Linked DNA regions of Homo sapiens: region 2 is linked to region 1. The links are contacts of gene promoters, found by promoter capture Hi-C in human tissues and cell types (Jung and others, 2019). All regions are on one chromosome and are shown on one strand. The core of a region is centred on a gene start or on the middle of the fragment in contact, and the rest is flanking DNA. Distances in the headings are between cores, read along the strand shown. Region 1 holds the start of LATS2 (large tumor suppressor kinase 2). Region 2 overlaps ZDHHC20 (zDHHC palmitoyltransferase 20).

Evidence for each region. The method cuts DNA at HindIII sites, captures the fragments that hold promoters and counts their contacts. A contact is called where the count stands out against the background at its distance.
Region 2: a contact is called between a fragment that was not itself captured here and the fragment with the promoter of LATS2 in region 1, in 1 of the 25 tissues and cell types used here (dorsolateral prefrontal cortex).

What each region holds. Positions count from the first base shown.
Region 1 is chr13:21,059,590-21,064,966 of GRCh38, reverse strand. It overlaps LATS2 (large tumor suppressor kinase 2), which reads left to right and starts at 3,381. Exons shown (of 8, transcript NM_014572.3): 1 at 3,381-3,621. RefSeq lists silencers at 3,167-3,966, 4,107-4,516 and an enhancer at 4,022-4,914. The HindIII fragment of the contact is 21,659 bases long and covers 1-5,377 here.
Region 2 is chr13:21,443,392-21,448,119 of GRCh38, reverse strand. All of the region lies in intron 1 of ZDHHC20 (zDHHC palmitoyltransferase 20), which reads left to right. Among named protein-coding and RNA genes, the nearest start is that of ZDHHC20, 14 kb to the left of the region's middle. The HindIII fragment of the contact is 8,751 bases long and covers 1-4,728 here.

The sequences.
Region 1 (5,377 bases), core at 2,132-4,631:
TTAGCCGTGCATGGTGGAGCATGCCTATAATCTCAGCTACTCCAGAGGATGAGGCAGGAGAATTGCTTGAACCCGGGAGATGGAGGTTGCAAGGTTGCAGTGAGCTGATATCTCACCATTGCATTCCAGCCTGGGCGACAGAGCAAGACTCCATCTCAAAAAAAAAAAAAGAAAAAGAAAAAAAGAAAAAAAATTATGTTAACTATCCTACTATAGAAGTATCAGGAAGTATAAGACAAAACCATTCAGAATCACTACACTACATCCAGAGACTACCACTTTTAACATTTGGCTGTGTAATTTTCTGGGCTTTAAAAATAGTTTAAAAAATATACATGTGTACATAGTTTATTGTATATACATATAAAATAAACTTATATTGTTGCTGTTTTTCCTTTCTTTTTTTTGTTTTTAGTAGAGATGGGATCTTACTCTGTTGGCTAGGCTGGTCTCGAACTCCTGGCCTCAAGTGATCCACCCATCTCAGCTTCCCAAAGTGCTGGGATTACAGGCATGAGCCACCATGCCCAGCATGTGTTTTTCTTGAACACCTCTACCTCTACCACACTATAAACCCCATCAGGGGATAAATCTTATGGTTTTGCTTACCATGTTATCCCAAGTATGATTTATTTTAGCACATGGCTCATAGCAGGTACCAATAACAAAACAAAACAGAAACAAAACAAAACAAAAACCCAAACATGGGTTTTTTAATTTTAGCACATGGTTCATAGCAGGTACCGATAACAAAACAGAAAACAAAACAAAAACCCAAACATACAACAACAAACAAAAATGAGAAGGAATGAATGACTGCATGTTAATAAACACAAATCGTTAATCACAACATTCTTCCATGTGAGCGTGTCAGCTTTCCCAACCAAGCCCCTATCTTGGAAACTTGTTTCCAATTTGTCTGTATTCATATATATATATAAAATTTAAAATTTTTAATGTTTTTTAAAAAAGGCACAAAGAATAGTATAGCACACATTATTGAACCCAACCTCCCAGAACCAACAACTTTTAAGATTTTGAGTTTTATTTCCGTTTTTTAAATAAAAGAAAGCATTGTAAAGTTGAAGTCTTCATTTTTTTTCTCTGCTCAATTTCCCTCCTTCCCTCTAATATAAACAACAGCTGTCATGAATTTGGTGTGTGTGATATTGCATTCTATGTCTATACTTATATAAAGTATGTGATCATTTTAGGTTCTGTGGGATTTTGATTATTTATAAATATGGTATCACAGTGTATATATATAGTTCTGCAACTTGCTTTTTTTCACTCCACAGTGCTTTTGAATTCTTTCTACCATCATTTATCCTTTACAACTACAGAGCTAGTTCATTAACTTAGCTACTGTGTATATTCCATCATTTGGATATCTACCTTTCATTTTCCTACCCCTTGACTGGACATTTGGGGTTTTTCTCAATTTTTCACTACTGCAAACAATGCTGAAATGATCATTGTAACTGCAACATTTTTATTAGGTATTTTATGCACAAATTTTAAGGTCCATTAAATCTATTTTATAATATTTTTCATTCCACAAGTGTTTTAAAAATTATTTTTACATCTTTGAAGGCAGAGCAGGAGCAGGATCTTTAAACACACAACAAAAAAAGATTAGCAGCCATGTGGCTTGGGGTTGGGGTGGAGAAAGTATAGTCAGCTTAAGAGTGAAAAGAAGGCCAAGCATGGTGGTGTGCGCCTGTGTTCCCAGCTACCCTAGAGGCTGAGGCAGGAGGATGGCTTGAGCTCAGGAGTTCAAGGCTGATGTGGGCTGCAGTAAGTTATGATTGTGCCACTGCACTCCAGCGTGGGCAATGGAGTGAGACTCTGTCTCTAAGAAAAAAAGGAAAAAATGTGGAAAAGTACATAGGTAATGCCAGTAGGGCTCAATTGCAGAATATTGGCTGGAGACTTATTTTGCTCCCAGTACTGTGCAAGATATCTGGGTAGCATACAGGATACTATCGAAAAATTAAATTGAATTCTAAGCTGCACGATGATGGTTTCTTTTTTTTTTTTTTGCACACTTCTGCTGGCAGGAAGGGATTACGGTTTGATTATCAGAGCCCAAAGAAGAGAGAAAACAGAGATCTGAGAAGATTCCCTGGAAGAGCTGAGGCCTTAAGAGATTGAAAGAGAGGGAGGGGAGGAGGATGAACCAGGGACTGAAGGCTGGGTGAGACTGTCAAAATAGTGCACAGATAATGACCTTTACTACTGTTTCCCATGAGAGTAAAATTTAAAAATTTCACAAGAGTTTGTCAATTAAAGAGGAAATCGAGTTGACTTTAAACACTATATTGACCCTCAGCATCACTTGCCACAGATATAGGTGGTAGGAAGTATGATGTTAGGAGAGCCAGAAGTAGACTGAGGATTTGGCTTCCAGTCTATTATTTCTACTGTGAATCTTTGCACCATCCCTGCTTCTGTCCCTGTACCAGATCCACAGTCCTCAAATGGATAGTGAAGCTGTTCAAAACCCACGACCTCACTTGCTGGTATATACGGTACTATACTATTCCCTACACCATAAAATACTTCTCAGAAAGAAAATATACATGGGGAGGGGAGGTTGATTAAATTAAATCAGGTTAAATTTGGGTGTGCATCAGACGTTCTTTTTTTTTTTTTTTTGAGACGGAGTTTTGCTCTTCTTGCCTAGGCTGGAGTGCAATGATGCGATCTCAGGTCACCGCAACCTCCGCCTCCCGGGTTCCAGTGATTCTCTTGCCTCAGCCTCCCGAAGAGCTGGGATTACAGGCATGAGCCACCACGCCTGGCTAATTTTGTATTTTTAATAGAGACGGGGGTTTCTCCAAGTTGGTCAGGCTGGTCTCGAACTCCCGACCTCAGGTGATCCACCCGCCTAGACCTCTCAAAGTGCTGGGATTACAGGCGTGAGCCACCGCTTCTGGCAAACGTCCTTCTTAATTGTTTGATTCCACTGTCCCAATAGCCGTCTGTCCTTTTCTGCCCCTATTTTTAGTGTCCAGCCACTAGTTGGTAACTTGGTGGCTCCTTCAGGCCTGCTAACTTTTTTTTTTCTTTCACCAAGACTGGTATGAGATACTTAAGAATAGTGGCTTTAACGACAGTTACCAACTTTTAATACAAATGCAGTCGAGAGGGCAAATACTCAAGTTTGGGGGCAGATAGCAGCCAGTCAAATAGGTCCGAGAGGCCCTGGCGAGCTACCGCAGGCCAGCAGGGAGGCCGTGGGCAGGTGGCGGTCGAGGCCGGAGGCAGGAAGCACGGCCGGGCGGGGCTGGGCGGAGCGGCCGCGGAGGAGCAGGGGCCGCAGGCGCCCCGCCCGGACTGGTATGCGGCCGAGAGTGACGCGGGAGGCGGGGTCACGTGACGCCCGTGGAATGCCAACAATGTAGCGAATGTCCCACTTGGGTCTGCGCTTTGGAACCGCGGCGTGAGCGCCCCGGGAAGATGGAGCAGTCGCCGTCCACGCCACCGCCGCCGCCCGGGGCTCCCCCGTCCCTGCGGGGCCAGCAGCAGCTCCAGCCACCAGTGCCCGGTCTCCCGGCGCGAGAGGCCCGGGAGCCGCCGGCCAGGACGCCCCCGAGGGTGTAGACCGCGCCCCTGGAGGTGAGGGGGCTGGGAGCTGGGGTCGGGGCGGCAGCTCGGAGGGTGGCGAGAGTTTCCGCGAAGCGGTCGAGCCCTGCGGCTCCGCGCACCTACTGTGGTGCCGAGGCTCCGGGAAGGGCGCCCGGCGGGGCGGCCGAGGAAGTTTGTCCGGACGGAGCCCTGCGCCCTGCCCCCACGGTCCGCGCCCGCCCGGAGCCGCCCCCGCCCGGCGGCTCGTAGTCCAGGCCGTACGGAGCCCGCGGAGCCGGTTCCAGAGGAGCCGGGGAAGTTGGAGGCCGGCGTCGGGCGGGGGCAGCGGGGCTGCGCCGCTTTGTTGTGCGGCGACCGGGGCGGCCGGGATCCCGGCGGGGCAGGGGCGGCGCGGGCCGGGGGCGGTGTCCTAGACCCGAAAGGCCGTAGCGCCGGGCGCGCCTCTGCTTCCGCTGTCTCCGGGGGATCGGCTTTTCACTAGACGCCCGGCCGGGCGCCCCTGACAGCCTCGGGACCCCCGGTCCGGCGGCGCAGCGGTCCCACGGATCCGGGGCCATCCTCCCGGCCGCGCCATCGTCCCACGGGCCAATCAGTCCTTCAGAGCCCGCCCTGTTGGCCCCCGCCGGCCGCCCCGTCGTCCCGCGAGCCGACGGACCCACGGCGGTGCCGCAGTCGAGGCCGCGCCGCCCCTCAGCCCCCGGTGGCTGCGCCGCCTCACCCACTGCCGCGCGGTTCCCACCCCGTTCCCCGCGGCCGCGCCGCCGGCTCACGGGCCAGTCAGCCCCTCAGAGGCCACCGGACCCTGGGGGCGCCGTTCCTCCCGGGCTGCGGGCGGCCAGGCCCTGCTCGGCGTCTCCCGGCCGGCTGCCGCGCCAACTCTGCGAGTTTGCTCACGGTCTTGGCGGGACGCGGCCCGAGGCGCAGGAGCGCTTTCGTGGCCACGCGAACGGCGGCCGTTGCATAACACGCCATTCCCGTGCCCTAGTTTAGCGACGTGTGGGGGGTTTGGCTTTCTCTTCTGATGTAAGCTCACCTGCGCTTAGCTCCCCAGCCGGACTCTGGAGATGGGGATTCTGACATCATTCACATCTTGCCATCACATCCTTCAGCCCAACTCCAGAACTTCTGGGGAGCTTTCCCTCGGGGATGGAGTGCGGCCTGGAGCAAACCCGTTTGTGAAATGCAAGTCTCCAGTGTCCCGAGGGTTGGGAACGGGGGGCGAGGCGAGGAATGGACCCTGAAGAAGGTAAAACCCACCCGACCAGGGCGCCAAGCAGCCGGTAACAGGGTCCCGAGTTAGCTCGGCGGCTGGCGGCTGTTCTGAGGCCTTTGGATGAGAAATGCTATTTTGCGAGGATCACCATGAAAGAACTTAACTTGCAGATTTTTTTGACAAAAATGTTGTTATTTTAAGACAAGATCTCGCTCTGTCTCCCAGGCTGGAGGGGAGTGGCGCGATCTCGGCTCACTGCAACCTCCGTCTCCCAGGTTCGAGCGATTCTCCTGCCTTAGCCTCCCACGTAGCTGGGATTACAGGCCCGCGCCACCAGCCCAGCTAATTTTGTATTTTTTAGTAGAGACGGGTTTCGCCGTGTTGGCCAGGCTGGCTCTCGAACTCCTGACCTCAGGTGATCCACCTGCCTCCGTCTCCCAGAGTGCTGGGATTACAGGCGTGAGCCACCGCGCCCCACCTGACAAGAATTTTGAACAAGAACTTTTACATTTTCACGCTTCTCTAGGATGGATATGAGTGTTTTTTGTTGTTGTTGTTGTTGTTTTTTGAGAC
Region 2 (4,728 bases), core at 894-3,393, 380 kb before region 1:
GGAGAGGCTCCTCACCTCCCAGACGGGGCGGCTGCCGGGCGGAGGGGCTCCTCACTTTTCAGACGGGGTGGTTGCCAGGCAGAGGGTCTCCTCACTTCTCAGACGGGGCGGCCGGGCAGAGACGCTCCTCACCTCCCAGACGGGGTCTCGGCCGGGCAGAGGCGCTCCTCACATCCCAGATGGGGCGGCGGGGCAGAGGCGCTCCCCACATCTCAGACGATGGGCGGCCGGGCAGAGACGCTCCTCACTTCCTAGATGTGATGGCGGCTGGGAAGAGGCGCTCCTCACTTCCTAGATGGGATGGCGGCTGGGCGGAGACACTCCTCACTTTCCAGACTGGGCAGCCAGGCAGAGGGGCTCCTCACATCCCAGACGATGGGCGGCCAGGCAGAGACACTCCTCACTTCCCAGACGGGGTGGCGGCCGGGCAGAGGCTGCAATCTCGGCACTCTGGGAGGCCAAGGCAGGCGGCTGGGAGGTGTAGGTTGTAGTGAGCCGAGACCACGCCACTGCACTCCAGCCTGGGCACCATTGAGCACTGAGTGAACGAGACTCCCTCTGCAATCCCGGCACCTCGGGAGGCCAAGGCTGGCGGATCACTCGCGGTTAGGGGCTGGAGACCGGCCCGGCCAACACAGCCAAACCCCGTCTCCACCAAAACCAGTCAGGCGTGGCGGCGCGTGCCTGCAATCGCAGGCACTCGGCAGGCTGAGGCAGGAGAATCAGGCAGGGAGGTTGCAGTGAGCCGAGATGGCAGCGGTACAGTCCAGCTTCGGCTCCACATGAGAGGGAGACCGTGGGGAGAGGGAGAGGGAGACGGAGAGGGAGAGGGAGAGGGAGAGCGCTCACATCTTCTATCTGTCCAAACTGGGACGAGTCCTCGGCCTCGGAGGCTCCACGCTCCCTCTCTCACAGCCCGCACCTCGGCGGTCTCTGGTTGTTTAAAGTAACTTAAGTTTTAGGGTGGGTTGTTAATGCCACATTATCACCTATATTGTAGTATCCTTGTAAACCTGTCTCTTCCTGTGCTCCACCCCCACCTTTATTCCATGTATTCTCCAGGAAGCAGTCAGAATGGTCTTTTTCAAATTAATACCAGTTTGTTACTCCTATTCTCAAGATCTTGACTGGCGTCCTTTCTTGCTCAGCAAGATATCTAAAAGCCTTACCATGGCCTTTAAGGCATTGTGTATTCATTACTTCATTACTTCTCTGACATAATTTCCTTTCCACTCTTCCTCTAATTTTATCTCTAGCTTAAGAAATCTATTTTCTATAGACAGAGGTGTGGGAGGGTGTGTTGTCTAAGGGAGGGAGCCCTCCACATCATCACCATGTGGGATTTTAAGATTAATACCTGACGCTATTCCTGTAAGCATATAAGCAACACATTTAGATACTGCTCAAATATGTAGAACATATACTTGAACAGATGGGCATTACACTTAAATGACTGATATAATAAAGAATAAAGGTGACTAGTTTTATGGAGAATAGATTCCCTTAAATAGAGATCCATAGGTCTTTAAAATAAAATTTAAAAAAAATTTGGTTTTAAAACATCTCTATTTTGGCTTTCCCAATGCATTTTACTATCGTAAACTTTGAACCACTCATTGGAATCATAGGAAGAATTAATTTTTATGGACATACTAATTCAACAGCATATAAAAACAAACACAAACTTATTAAATGTGAAGTCTTCTGGGAAGCTTTTAAAACTAATTGCATGAAAAGGATATCCTCAGCATCTGAAGGAAATAATACCAAATACACCAAAATATTAACAGTGTATGTTGCTGGGTTTGAGATTATACTGATTTTTTCCTTATGCAATACATAGCCTCTTAATAGACTTTCATATTTTCCCCTTACAGCATATTCTTCCCTTATCCCCCGAAGAGCTAATGAATCTGCTAAAAAAATACAAGTCATGATTATTACTCCTCTGCTCAGCACCCTCTGATGGCTTTCCACTTTGCTTAAAATGAAATTCAAAGTTGAAAATATATAAGGCTCTAGATGCTGTGGCCTGCCACTGCTTCTGACCTAATTTCTTCCTTTGCTCATTCTGCTTCAGCCAACAGGCCACCTTTCTTTTCATCTGTCAGGCCACCTGAGGACCCTTGAACTTCCTGTTCCTTCTGCCTGGAATGCTTTCCTCCCAGATTTCCGCATGGCTAGCTCTCACTTCGTCTAGATCGCTGTTCAGGTAGTCACCTATCAGAGAGGCATTCCTGACTACCCTCTGTAAAAGAAGTACTTCGTCTTTTAGTCTCCTCACCCTGCATTTTTCCCCCCTCATAGCGCCTATTATTACTTGACATACAGTTATTTTTGTTTCTCTCCAGTCGTATATTCACTGCTGTATTTCCAGAACCTAAAATAGGGTCTGGTATAATATGTTCTCAATAGATATTTGTTGAATGAGTGAATTGATTGTGTAGCCGCCAATTCGCATGCTAGTAGAAGAGGGAGAATTGGAATGTTTTCATATAGTAGACAACTTGCAATTATTGATAATCGGTATTATTGATAATCTTAAAGTTGCTTCTGGATTTCAGATAGCCTGTTCATTAGGCAGGTGAGGAAACTGTCTTGAATTGTCAGGAGGAAATGTTAATTATAATAGCTATTGTTATTATTGTTTATTGTATGCCCGTTGTGTGTCTGACATATAGTCTGAGGCAGTTCACTTATGTTAGGTCTTTTTTAATTCTAACTCTATTGGAGAGAGATTATTAGCATTATTTTGTGGATTAAAAACAAAGACTCATAGGTTAAAGATCTCTTTTGAGGCCATACAATTGATACATAAAACCAAAGCTCAGATCCACATCTGTGTAACTCTGTAAGTTTTGCCCTTTCCATTATACATTTGTCCATTAAAATATTTAATAATTTATAAGCTCTATTTGCAGGCCTTTCATTATATTTGTTATAACTAGTCAAATCTTGTGTTTGGGGCATGTAATGCAAATAAGACAAAACCTCTCCCATATATATATATAAATATATAAAACATACATGTAAAACATGTATGTGTGTGTGTGTATGTGTTTTGAGACAGGGTCTCACTGTGTTGCCCAGGCTGGAGTGCATTTGGCATGACCACAGCTCACTGCATCCTCAAACTCCCAGACTCAAGCAATCCTTCCACCTTAGCCTCCTGAGTAGCTGGGACTACAGGCGCATAACACCATGGCCGGCCAATTTTTGTAATTTTTATAGAGACGAGGTCTTGCTATGTTGCCAGGGCTGGTCTCCAACTCCTAAGCTCAAGCAGTCCTCCCACCTCAGCCTCCCAGAGTGCTGGGATTGAAGACATCAGCCACTGTGCCCAGCCCTATATTTTTATACAGGTGACATTTGGTATAACAGTACCTATCAAGAGCAGTTTGGAGGAAAAAGATCATAAAACGGTAGGGGACGGATATACCTACTAACTTTCACGTAGAGAAGGCTGATTTACTGGCTGTTTGTATTTATAACTATTTCAGATGTATCCTTATTTCTTGGGTTTATGGCCCAATACGAATAATTTAATTTAGTAGAACAACATAAATTTACTAATTTTATCATATATAATGTATTTTTTGAAAGTACCCGTTATTATCACTATCATTTTATAAAAGGATATTCTAATATCAAAGTATGAGACATAATCTGAATGAAGACTTCAGTGCCTTTAAATTATTGCAGTTTATGAAAAATTCTCTCCCTTTTGCTTATGTTTCTTGTTTTACTGTGGCCTGGGTCATGGACTTGGATTTGGGAGTCATTTCTTTAGCACGCCAATTTATCTCTCCAACTAGTTTCTATGTTGATGTACATAATAAACAAGTAACCTTCTGTGACTTCCAGGCAGTCTGTTTAGAGCCTAAAGCCTTAACGTGAAACCAGGGAGGTGAGGTATTCCTGGTTCTAACAACAAAATTTTACTCATTTATTTACTAATTTTTTTGAGACAGAGTCTCGCTCTGTTGCCCAGGGTAGAGTGCAGTGGCACAATCTCAGCTCCCTGCAACCCCCACCTCCCGGGTTCAAGCAATTCTCCTGCCTCAGCCTCCCAAGTAGCTGGGACTATAGGCACACGCCACCACACCTGGCTAATTTTTGTATTTTTAGTAGAGATGGGGTCTCACCATGTTGGCCAGGCTGACTCCTGACGTCAGGTGGTCCTCCTGCCTTGGCCTCCCTAACTGCAGGAATTACAGGTGTGAGCCACCACACGCAGCCAAAATTTTAGAACACAGACTAATCATAAGATGATGTTATCTATAGCCACATGTGGAAGTTCTAGAAAAATGAGTGTTGGCAGATAATATTTTAAATCCTTCTGAACAATATTGAAGGACCCCAGGAAATGGTAATAATTATCCTTACTATTCATGCATTTAATGCGCTAAGTAATTAAGTGGTCTGTCTATATCTTTTGATCTTTACAATAACTCTACAAAGGAGATGCATATTTTTCTTCAGTTTATAACTTGAGAAGTTGACTTAGTTCCTCAATTCAGACCTTTCCACATATCCTTCTAAAACCCATACAGATTAGTAAGAGCAAATAAAATCAACTATATAACCTGGGCCTATGGCATAGCTAGGACATAGAGAATTTTTGAAACCACAGTTTATATGTGAGTGGGGAAATAGTCATCTAAGAATAGCTAGGTGAACTCTGGTGACTGTATCAGAACTAAGAGTAAGGGACTCTGCAGAGGATAA